2 separate regions of the Homo sapiens genome follow, and region 2 is linked to region 1. The links are contacts of gene promoters, found by promoter capture Hi-C in human tissues and cell types (Jung and others, 2019). All regions are on one chromosome and are shown on one strand. The core of a region is centred on a gene start or on the middle of the fragment in contact, and the rest is flanking DNA. Distances in the headings are between cores, read along the strand shown.

The links. Contacts are between HindIII fragments. The study calls those that stand out against the background at their distance.
Region 2: a contact is called between a fragment that was not itself captured here and the fragment with the promoter of NRG2 in region 1, in 2 of the 25 tissues and cell types used here (dorsolateral prefrontal cortex and lymphoblastoid cells).

The regions. Positions count from the first base shown.
Region 1 is chr5:140,040,684-140,045,930 of GRCh38, forward strand. It overlaps NRG2 (neuregulin 2), which reads right to left and starts at 2,616. Exons shown (of 10, transcript NM_004883.3): 1 at 1,687-2,616. The coding sequence starts at 2,386. RefSeq lists enhancers at 519-708, 2,081-2,750 and silencers at 2,049-2,258, 2,419-2,758. The HindIII fragment of the contact is 7,156 bases long and covers 1-5,172 here.
Region 2 is chr5:139,631,661-139,636,907 of GRCh38, forward strand. No RefSeq gene overlaps it. Among named protein-coding and RNA genes, the nearest start is that of CXXC5, 14 kb to the right of the region's middle. RefSeq lists an enhancer at 1,664-1,958, a cis regulatory region at 3,993-4,828 and a silencer at 4,638-4,857. The HindIII fragment of the contact is 7,601 bases long and covers 1-5,247 here.

The DNA of each region.
Region 1 (5,247 bases), core at 1,366-3,865:
ATATTTTTACTATCTATTTTCCACTGTACAATACTGTTTCACAGCTCCCCAAGGCATCTCAGAGTATTTTAATACTCCCCAAGTATCAAAATACTTAATAGAATAAAAAATTAGAAATTCTTAGCTGGTCTCTACTTGTCTTTATAAAACATTTCAGAACATAAAACCAATAATAAAAAGCAGTCAACAATATTCCTAAGGATAATGTCAGAGCGATAAACTGCTGTTATCCCCCAAAGTTTTCCCCTCCTTATTAAGACATTGCCAAGATTCTTCTCATTAAAGTGATCACAGTTTAACATAGTTAGTGTCTAGATATACTCCCATCACTAAACTCCTAAAATTTGCCTCCTGAAGGGGGTGGGGGAGGAAAGCTTCCAAAAATCATAGGTATCGATCTAGAAAGATGAAGGCAGCAAAACTTACTATAAGCTGTTACACATATTTTGCTACTCAAACAAAGCCTGTCTACACTACCCAGAATCAGTTGGTAAAACTGGTAAACATACCAACTTCTATGAGAGTACAGGACATCTATCATAATTCAGCGATTACACAGTCCAGCAAGTCATACCGCATGCCAACAAATTCAGCTTTAGTTGGGACAAAACGAAACCTCAATTTGAATAAGCACGAGACAGGCTTACACCAAATACTCCAGTGTGGGACAATTTGATTTGAAATATCTTACTAAGAAGTAAGTACTGGATTCAGGGACAAGAAGAAAAAGCTCTTAGACTGACATTTCTTTGACTTTTGACATGGGAGACTTCCATTCCCAGCTGCAGAGATCTACAGATTTCAGTGTTTTGTTTCTAATCACCTGCATTCCTGTGCAGCATCCAACATCATGAAGATGAGAGATGCAGTCAAATACATCCGGCGAGTAAGACGTTAGAGCTGAACTTAAAGCATTCAGCAGAAGTTACTCTCTTTCATCATCATCACAATCAACAGACCTTGTAATTCCCCCAGAAACAGCTAAAAAAAAAAAAAAAAAAAGGTGTCTGCTTGCTAGTCTTAAGAGAAGGATGTGCTACCTGCTTAGCAAAGACAGGCAATCACGATGAAGAAAAAAACTGGAGCCACATGGAGGACGGAAAACAGTAGCAGAAAAAGTCCAACTCTGCCTGCGCCAGCGGTGTGGATGAGCAGAGCAACGAGCCCAGGAGAGGAAGGAGGGGGCGGGGGCGACCATTCCCTAGGAGAACTTGTAAGCGGAGGCCTTCACAGCCTGGGAGTCTGCCCAGCTGCTCCCGCAGACCCTGCCAGCCTGGGCACGGCAGGCCCGCGGCAGCAGGGCAGGCAAGGCCTCCGAGGGTCACTCCTGACTCACTGAGCCTCAGGCCAGCACCGCCAGGACCTCTCCGTTTTTCCTTCCGCTACTGGGCTATGATGGCAGCTTTCCAGCCCCACATGCCATACATCAGCCGCAGATCCCCGCTGGCACAGGCCAGCGCCTCCCTCCGCCCCCCACCCCTGGCACACTTTGAGCCTGATCCTTCTTCTCTCCAACCCCAACCCCCTCACCCACCCGTGCCAGGCGCCCTGCCCAGGGGCGGCCCCACCCCCCCAGCGCCCGGACGCTGCCAGGCCCGGGCACCTGCAGCACCTCCCCGCCCCACCCCCATTCTCCACCACCTCGCCCCTCCCCCCTTTCTCCAGCAAAGGGAGGGGGCGACTCACCGCAGTCAGTGCACAGGATCTTGCCCACCTCTTTCTTGAGATTTTTGCCGTTGGTATCGAGGGGGGCAAAGGCCGTCTTAAAGACTAAGGGCTGTTCCGTGGGCTCCAGGAAAAAGATGTAGCGCTGGTTCCTTTCGAGCGGCACACAGGAGCCCACGCTGATCACCTGCTCGCGCTGCAGCCCCCCGCTCCGGAGCGGCCACTTGTCCAGCACCTTTACCAACGCCACCCGACCCGAGGCGGGCGGCTCTCGGGTGCTGTTGGAGCTGGAGCCGCCGGCTGGGACCAGCCCCTGTACCTTGCCCTCCACCACCACGGGTGCCTTGTACGCCTGGTCCTGCACTGACTTGAGGCTGGGCGAGTAGCAGGCGAGCGACACACCGAAGAGCAGCATGGAGAAGCCGGGGGCCGGGTCGCGCCTCATGCCGCCGGCGGCTGCGGCTCGCGAACGGGCGGCGGCTCTCCGGGCTGCGGGGCTGCGGGGCTGCGGCTGTTGCTGCGGCCGCGGCTCTGGGGGCGCAGCGGGACGAGAGATGCTGCTGTTGTTGCTGCTGCTCCTGCTGCTGCTGCCGCTCTCGCTGCTGCTGCTGCTGCTGCTGCTGCTCCTCTCGCTGCTGCTGCTGCTGCTGTCGCTGTAGCTGCTGCACCGACCCTTCTCCAGTGGCGGCGGCGGCAGCGCTGAGCAGCAAACCTGCCGCATCTGGCCAGGCCATTTGGGGGGCTCCGCCGCTCAGCCGCCGCCGCCTTGGGAGGGGAAACAGAGCCCGCTGGAAAACCGGAAACAGCGTAACGTTAGCGCCTCTTAGCCCTCCACCGGCAGCCCGGGGAGGTGGCCCAGCTAGGGCAGGGGGCAGGCGGCAAGCGGGCCGCGATGCGCAGCGCGGCGCAGCGCAGCGCTCCCACCCTGTGCGCCAGGACCTGGAGGAGGATGCGGAGGATGGGACGCCCGCCCACTTGCTCTCTCGCGCCCCCTCTGCCCCCGGACCGAGTAGGGAGCGCGGCTTCTGCAGGGGAAGCTTGGGACTGCACTGCTTTAGTGCCCGCCTTCAGCCCGCAGGGGCGCGGGAGGAATCGTGCCACCCTTTGCTCCCGGGATTTATCGGCATGACAGTGGGGGTGGTGCGTGAGGAGAAGGCGAAGAAGAGATAACGGGCTCCTGGCACCATCCTATGAACGTGGTAATGGGACGCAGGGCGTGCCCCCTGCCTTTGGCCAGCAGCTGTAGGAGCCAGAGAGGTTGCCATGGCCAGGGTGGCCGGCCAGCCTCTCGCCTCTTGGGCTGTCCTCTTTCCTAGGAGGACCCTGGAGCCCAGCCCCTAAATGATACCACGTGCTCGGTCCTGCCACCGCCTGGTGAACGCTGGATATTCGACTTGAGGTGGGGGAGAATCCCAGCCCCGTCATTTTGGAAAGAGTTGGGCCACAAGGTGTCTTGTCTTAGCATTGAGGACACCCAAGCAGAGGTGGTAGCTGAGAAAGGGCCCAGTCCCCAACACTCTGGGCTTTCTTCAGCGGCCACGTGGGGATCTGGCTGAGCACTGTACAACCTCATCTTTTAAAAATCTGATCTCTAAGAAAGGTGGGGGGCTTCTTGGGAGCCAACAGAGAGCCAGAGCCTGTCAGGGCCAGAGGCTGCTCCATAAAAAAGGTTTTTTTTGTTTTGTTTTGTTTTGTTTCCAAGGCTGATGCTTGCAAGAGGCAGAAGAGTTTGCTGCACTGGAGCCAGCATCTGATTTAAAACACACACACACACACACACACACACACACAGGTCCATAATCCATTAGCCTATCAATGAGGGTCCAGGGAGTTTTCAACACCCAGCTTTTAACCTTGAAGGATGTGGAGCTCAGGAATGCCAGTGAGCTCTTGGGGAATTTTATACCGCACTGGGCTCCACAGGAAACTGGTCCAAGGATGAGTGACTTAGGCTAGGACTGCTATTCTGGAAAGGAAGTAGAGAGAGCTACACCTTTCCTCCTAGCTAAGAGACATCTTAAACTCAATACATCCAAAGCCAACATCATTATTTCTTCCACTTCACTCCAAATCCCCTATAATTATTAATGCCACTGTTTTATTCTTTTAGACTACATCAATCCATTACAATAAGTCCCTTCATCTCATCTTTTATTCTTCCTCATCCAATTAATCACCAAGGCCTTTGGGTCTCTCTTTTAAAATAATCTCCAATTTATCTACTTCCACTCCAACTCTGCTGCAAATACCTTAAGTCCAAGCCCTCATCATCTCTCACCTGGACAACTTCTAAGCCTTCTAACTGGTCTCCACTCCTTTCACCTCATCACCTATCTCCAGTCCTACCAATGCCAGAGTGATCCTTCTAAAAATAAAATGTAAGTACAATTTGGCCATGCTACTGCTCTCAGAAGTTAAGTTCAAACTCCTCAGCAAGGCTCTTCATGGGCTCCCTTTGCCTAGCCAGCTTCATATCCTGAGAGCCAACCCCCCACTCTAGCAATCCTCAGCACTTCATGCTCTTTCTTGGTGTGCTTCTGCACATGATGTCTCTTGTGTCCAGAAAGCCTCACCTCCACCTTGACCACATGGAAAACTTATTTTCCCAAGGCCCAGCTCAGCATTATACCGCATCCCCCTTCCTACATATCCACCTCTACTCCCACCAACACATACATGATGGAATTAATCCCTTCCTCCTCTGTATTGCCATGAGCTTCACACATAGTATTACTGTTGGGATACTGGCCCATACCGTATTTCAAGCAGCCATTTAATGGGTCTGCATCTCCCATCAGGCCAGGCACGTTAATGTCAGGGACTATATATATCCTATTCATCTTTGGATTCCTATTACCTCCAACACAATGCCTGGCATAAAATAAGGATTAGCAAATCTCCAGTGAAAGAAGGAGAGAAGGAAGAAAATAACTGAAAATCGGCACGCTTAAAGGCATCAAGCCAATCTTCTTGGCTCCTTCAGTGTCCCCCATTTCATTTTCATAGATCACAGACCTCATAAATCACAAAACATCACCATAAGGAAGATAGCGACATCCACTCTTTCATTTTACAATGAAAGAAAAAGTCCCAGAGGGGATAGGGGACTTACTCAACATTTCACACAGCCAGGACTGAACTCAGTCTTCTGTTCCTGAGACCAGGGTCATAGTGAAGAGCTTGTGCTCTGGAGCCCAGCAGAGCTGGGTTTTAAAGCAACTCTGTGACTTACCAACTTTGGGATGAGTCTATTTCACTCTCTAGGCCTTAGTTTCCTTATCAGTATGAAGGAGAAAATAATAGGGTCTACTTCGTAAAGCTGTTTTTTGCTCAGTATGTACTTTCAATAAATATTCAATTGAATGGCTCCTCTGTGCCAAGCACTGAGGCACTGTATGTTACTGGATGTACTGTGGTGAACCAAACTGTTCAATAGTACATGTCTGTGCTCTCAAAGCTCATACTCTGACTGGGAAGACAACAGTAAATAAGTACACAAATGGGTAACTAATTACTTGTATTGCTGAGTGTCCTGAAGGAAATAAACAGGATGAAATGCTAGAGAATAATGGAAAGGGGAGA
Region 2 (5,247 bases), core at 1,967-4,466, 410 kb before region 1:
TTTCTATGTCTACTCCTGGTCTGGGTAAGGCAAAGGCAGACATTTTTGTGATGAGCAGTCACTTTTCATTAAATTAAACTATTTGTGGATCTTTATCTGATCAGAGACACAGCGTAATCTGCCTCTTAGCAGATGTAAAACTATATGAATACCTTAGTGCCAAGACAGCAGCTTAATAGTTTTCCTTGATTGAGTGGTGGTTTGTGTGTTTGTTCTTAACGTCCTGTGTAAGTTGTTATTGGTAGAATGGTTTTTTCCAGAGCTGAGGAGCCTGATTGCCCAACATTGTACTCTGAAAGCAAATGGTTGATCCCATTTGGAAAAGCCAAGAAGAGGCCATTGAGTGTCCAGCCCAGGCCTCCTGTGACTGCTGTACAGGAAAGAGCAGCAGCAGCCTTGGTGAATGTACCATGTTCCTTTCCCAACTTCTAAGGATGCGAGGAGTGACAACTGCCATTTTCCCAGGCACACCTCTCCCTGCCCTGAGCCACTTGTTCTCAATTCTGTTTAAACTTCCTTTTTGGTACTTAAAAATCTTAAATCTTAAAAAGATGTCACCCTTCCCTAAACTTTAGAGCCTCTGGAAAATGTGAGTGGGGAGGGTTTGGTTTTTTGAGTTAAAACCTAGTCTTCAAATTGCCAGCTTTCCTTGGGTTTAAAGTTCTCCATAGAAAATGAGATTGCTTTAGAAGCTCCAAAGCTCCTGGGCCCTCTGACTTGGAGGTTTCTAGAAACAACCCACAAATACAATCTGACATTTGGGACGCAGAGCCAGCACCATCTTGGGTAAGAGAAGTGTTCCATGTTTGAGGTAGTTGGCAAATGCTAAGCTACCTATGTGGTGACAGTTGTCTGGAGCTTTTCCCATCTGATTAAGGGGCAATACTGATTTGGTCGTTGTGGGCAGTTTCTCCTCCTAGCCAGCATCACTGCCATCTTGGAAGGTGTGGCTACCTGTCATGTGTTGCACAGAGAGTCGAGGGGAGCTGGCCTCGTTTGAGAGGGCACCTGAGACTTTCAGTCACCTGCTGCAGAGTGACAGAAGGAACAAGGGAAACCAAGGCTTTCCCAAACTTGCCAGAGAAGGTGAGCTTTTTGGAAGGATGGTTCCAAGTGACCTCAGCTTAGTCCTCCTTTGGAGGAAACAAGGCAAGTTGGGGAGGCTCTGGTGCATAACAAGTTATAGGGCAGGTACTGTTTCCTGGATTCAACCTCCAAGCTTCATAAAAAGGCAGTTCCAGCCAGGCGTGGTGGCTCACGCCTGTAATCCCAGCACTTTGGGAGGCCGAGGTAGGTGGATCACCTGAGGTCAGGAGTTCAAGACCAGCCTGAGCAACATGGAGAAACCCCGTCTCTACTAAAAATACAAAATTAGCCAGGCGTGGTGGTGCATGCCTGTAATCCCAGATACTTGGGAGGCTGAGGCAGGAAAATCTCTTGAACCGGGGATGTGGAGGTTGCAGTGAACCGAGATCCGAGATCGCGCCATTGCATCCAGCCTGGGCAACAAGAGAGAAACTCTGACTCAAAAAAAAAAAAAAAGGGCGGGGGGCACTTCCTTTTGAAGTTTCAGATGTATATTGGAGGGAGCAGAATTCCTTTGTGATTTCTTCCTTAATACATTGTGTCCCTGAGGTGGTCCCTGTTCTTCCTGTCTCCTGTCAGCCCCCTGGCTCAGAGGACGGCTGAATGGAGTTGCATTTCAGTGCCCACAGATGGAGGTGATGACTGAAGTGTGTTTGCTTATGTGGGGAGTGAGATGATGGCTTTGGTGTCTGAGTGGATGCTAGTGCCTTGAGTGGCCAGCAGAGGGCAGTGGTGACCCATAGCTGTGACAACCGTGAGGCGTGTGGTCAGTGAATCTGCATGGGCACAACCTGAGAGGGGCTTTTGTTGGAGTGGGGAGATTCTTTCGGACTTAAGCTTTGTGCGTGGTATATCCAGAATCAGATGGGCCAGTGCCAAGTTCAGTCAGGTTCTCAGCCTTACAGTGAAGGAAAAGGTTAGTGACTTGTATTTCAGCCCAAAGCCTACTGGAAGTGTCAAGCTGCCAGCTCCCCTCTGCCCTCCCCGTTGCTATGGCAGCCATGTCTCTGTGTGTGAATAGGTGAACCAGGCTCCAGGTTAGGACCTCTGCCCACCTAGCTCCAGGTTACATGCAGGAAAAGATCTGTCTATTGCTGCATGTGAACAAGGAGATCCCATATTTCTAGCAGGTCACAGAGGCAGCAGTCCATTATCACTTGCCTGCCCACCTACCCTGGGCAACCAGCACATGGCTCCTTAGACCTTGAAGATGGAGGCCTGGGGACAGAAGGAGCAGAGTTGGGGGCTAGTGATAGGGCCTGGGAAATGTTCTTGTCTGTTTCAAGTTTATCTTGTATTTTGGGGCCCTGGTCTCCTCAGTCTTCCAGCCCAACAGGTGTGAGCGTCCAGGGCCACCACCCGGAAGCCAGCTGCCTCTTCATGGGGAAATCTTTGAAATTCAAGGCTTGGCCATCTGGATATGCAAATGTTCCAGATTTGCTGAGCCCACCAAGTGGCTGAGCCCCCCATGCCTGGGGCCTGTCAGCCACATTCTCCATGGCTCCCTCCTTCTAACAGGGACAGGGGCAGGCAGGGAATCTAAATTCCCAGGTCAAGGAGTTTATTTGGGAGCCCCAGGCAGGGCTGTGAGAATTAGCTACCACTGCCCCTAGATGGGGAAAGCTGCCTGGGTGCTGTTGGTACCTAGAACCTAAGCTTTTGCCTACTGATAGACTCTAAGGAGAACGGTGTATTGAGAGCTCCACGAGTCCTGCTGTAGTGCCTAATCATGTGAGGGATTTTGCTGGATCCAAAGGAATCTCAACTAAGAAAGTTTCTGGAATAAGGAGGGAAGCCTTGGGTCTAGCCTCGCTAGAGGGTGGGAGCTACCTGCAGGGAAAGCTGCTGACTTCCTATTATGTCAAACCCAGGCAAATAACTGGAGCTTAGGCAGTTGGCCCCCAGAATTGCTTATTCTCCCCCAGGCCTCCCTCTGGGGCTGGTTTTCTGGCTGTAGCAGGAGGTATGTGTTCTCTGAGTGGGAAAGGAGTGGGGTCAGGGTCAGGGCGGAAACCCGGGAATTTAGATTCCCTGCCTGTCCCTGTCCCTGTTAGAAGGAGGGAGCCATGGAGAATGTGGCTGACAGGCCCCAGGCATGGGAGAGCTTAGGCCAGCCTGTATGTGTGTGTGCAGAAGGGGACTGCACATGTGTTCAGGAGCTTGAGAGTGAGAATTGTGAGCATGTACACTCCTTAGTGTTTATGCATCAGGGTGTGATGCATAAACACGAAGGCTCTGTAGCCTTTGAAGAACAGGATCAGATCTGGGTTTGAATCACAAGACCATGGGTTTTCAGTTGGGCAATAAACTTATCTGTCTTTTGCTTTGATTTTCTCATCTAGAAAACGGGCACTTGGTCACCAGCCTGACCCATAGGCAATGCTTGGTGGAAAATGACCTTATCAAATTAAAGGGTTGTGACCGTGGGTGCTTATGGTTCAGGGAGGTAGGCCTGGACAGTGAGACATCTTTCTTGGATTCCTGTACATGCTAGAGGTTTGCCCTCCTTTGAGCTGGGCTAGCTCCTGGGACATCCAGGGACCTGGGGAAGACTGGCTGGGCCCTTTTGCAGCCTATGGCTCACATGCCCACTTGTTAAGGCCTGCAAGAGTGTGCCCACAAACAGGGTGAGCAGGCAGAATAATGGCCATGGCTAGCCAGACTGTGTGTCCTTGCCCAGTGTCTGTCTGTCCTTCCCCTTACCTTGGGGGACAAAAGGGAATCCAGTTGTCCTGCCTGGTGAATAAAAGCCTGGGGTTGGGGGAGGATTTGCCTCCAGCCACGGAGGAGGGGTATGCTGTGGAAGGAGGCCAGATCTCCCCCAGCTGTTTCCCAGCTCTGTTTGAAGGGGAAGGGAGAGGGATAAATGACTGGGTGATTGTGGCACCTACAGCCAGCATCTTTCCTCTCCACATTCTAGGTCACAGGCCCACACCTCTCTCCCTAGTCAAAGAGAGCCTCTGTGAGGGGGTTGAAGGGTGTCTTGGATCTGTGGGCAGGACTTGGGATCTGGGCACAGAGAGGTTGGGGAATTAACAAAGGTCACACAGCCAGGCAAAACTAGGGAATGTGGGGAGTCATTCTAGACAGGACCTTTAGGGGGAGCTCCCTGGCTACAAGAGATTTCCTGGAAGCCCTTGGGTGGGCCCAGGCCTGAACTGAGGAAGTGAGGGCTACAGCCCAGCTGGCCTTGCACTGGAACCACAGGAGTGGCCTTTAAGGGTGTGCTGAAGGACTGATGAATCTTGGCCCTGTTCCCACACACATGCACCACTGGGAATGGGAGTGGGGAGATTGCTGAGCTCTGGGGCCAGCCCTGTTTCCTGCTTTGGATTTGGAATGGGGAGAGCCTTTCTGGGGACTGAAACTGGTGCTTCAGCTTCTCTAGGGGGAAATGGAGAAATGGAAAGGGGGACTGACAAGGGATAGTCCTTAAGGAGTTTATTTGGGAGGCTCTGGGTCCCTTTGTAACTAGGTGGGTGACCTTTAGGAGGGAAGTGCTTTGTGTTCTACAGCTTTCTGAGAGTGGCAGGAAATGGGGCCAGTAGCAGTGCACACTAGTTGGGTTGCACCTGGTGAGAGATTAGGGGTGGTTTCCCCACCAAGGTCTCTGAGCCAGAGCTTTCAGCTGCATGAGCACAGCCTGCTCCCCCTGTGGAGGGGATTCTGGGGTGGGTGTGGTTGTATACTGGGGGAAGTGAGAATGTGGCCTCTCTGTGGGTGAGTGCAGCACCGTGAATTGTGTTTGTAACACTTGAGTTGTGTTTCCCAGGTGTATGTGATGGCAGAACTAGTTTTGCTGCTGGGGTGAATCAGGTTCCTGGAAGGGACTGGACTAACATGGAGAGAATGATGCTAAGTAGTTACAGTCATTATTATATACACATGACTTAGTAGTATAGAACCATTAGCAATGACCAAGACCACCTGTGTGTCGAGTGCTTACCATGTGCCTGGTGCTGTGCTAAGCACCTCACCTGCAGTGGCTCATTTAGTCCTGTCAGAACCCTGCAAGTTCATGCTGGTTTGCCTGGTGTTTGTTTATTGTGCCATGTTGGGTGGGGTATAATTTTATTCAAGTTGGAAGATGCAAAACAGCTTTATCCCTCTCTTAGTTACTGGGGTGCAACTTATGGCAGCATTTGCCCCTGTCATATTCTA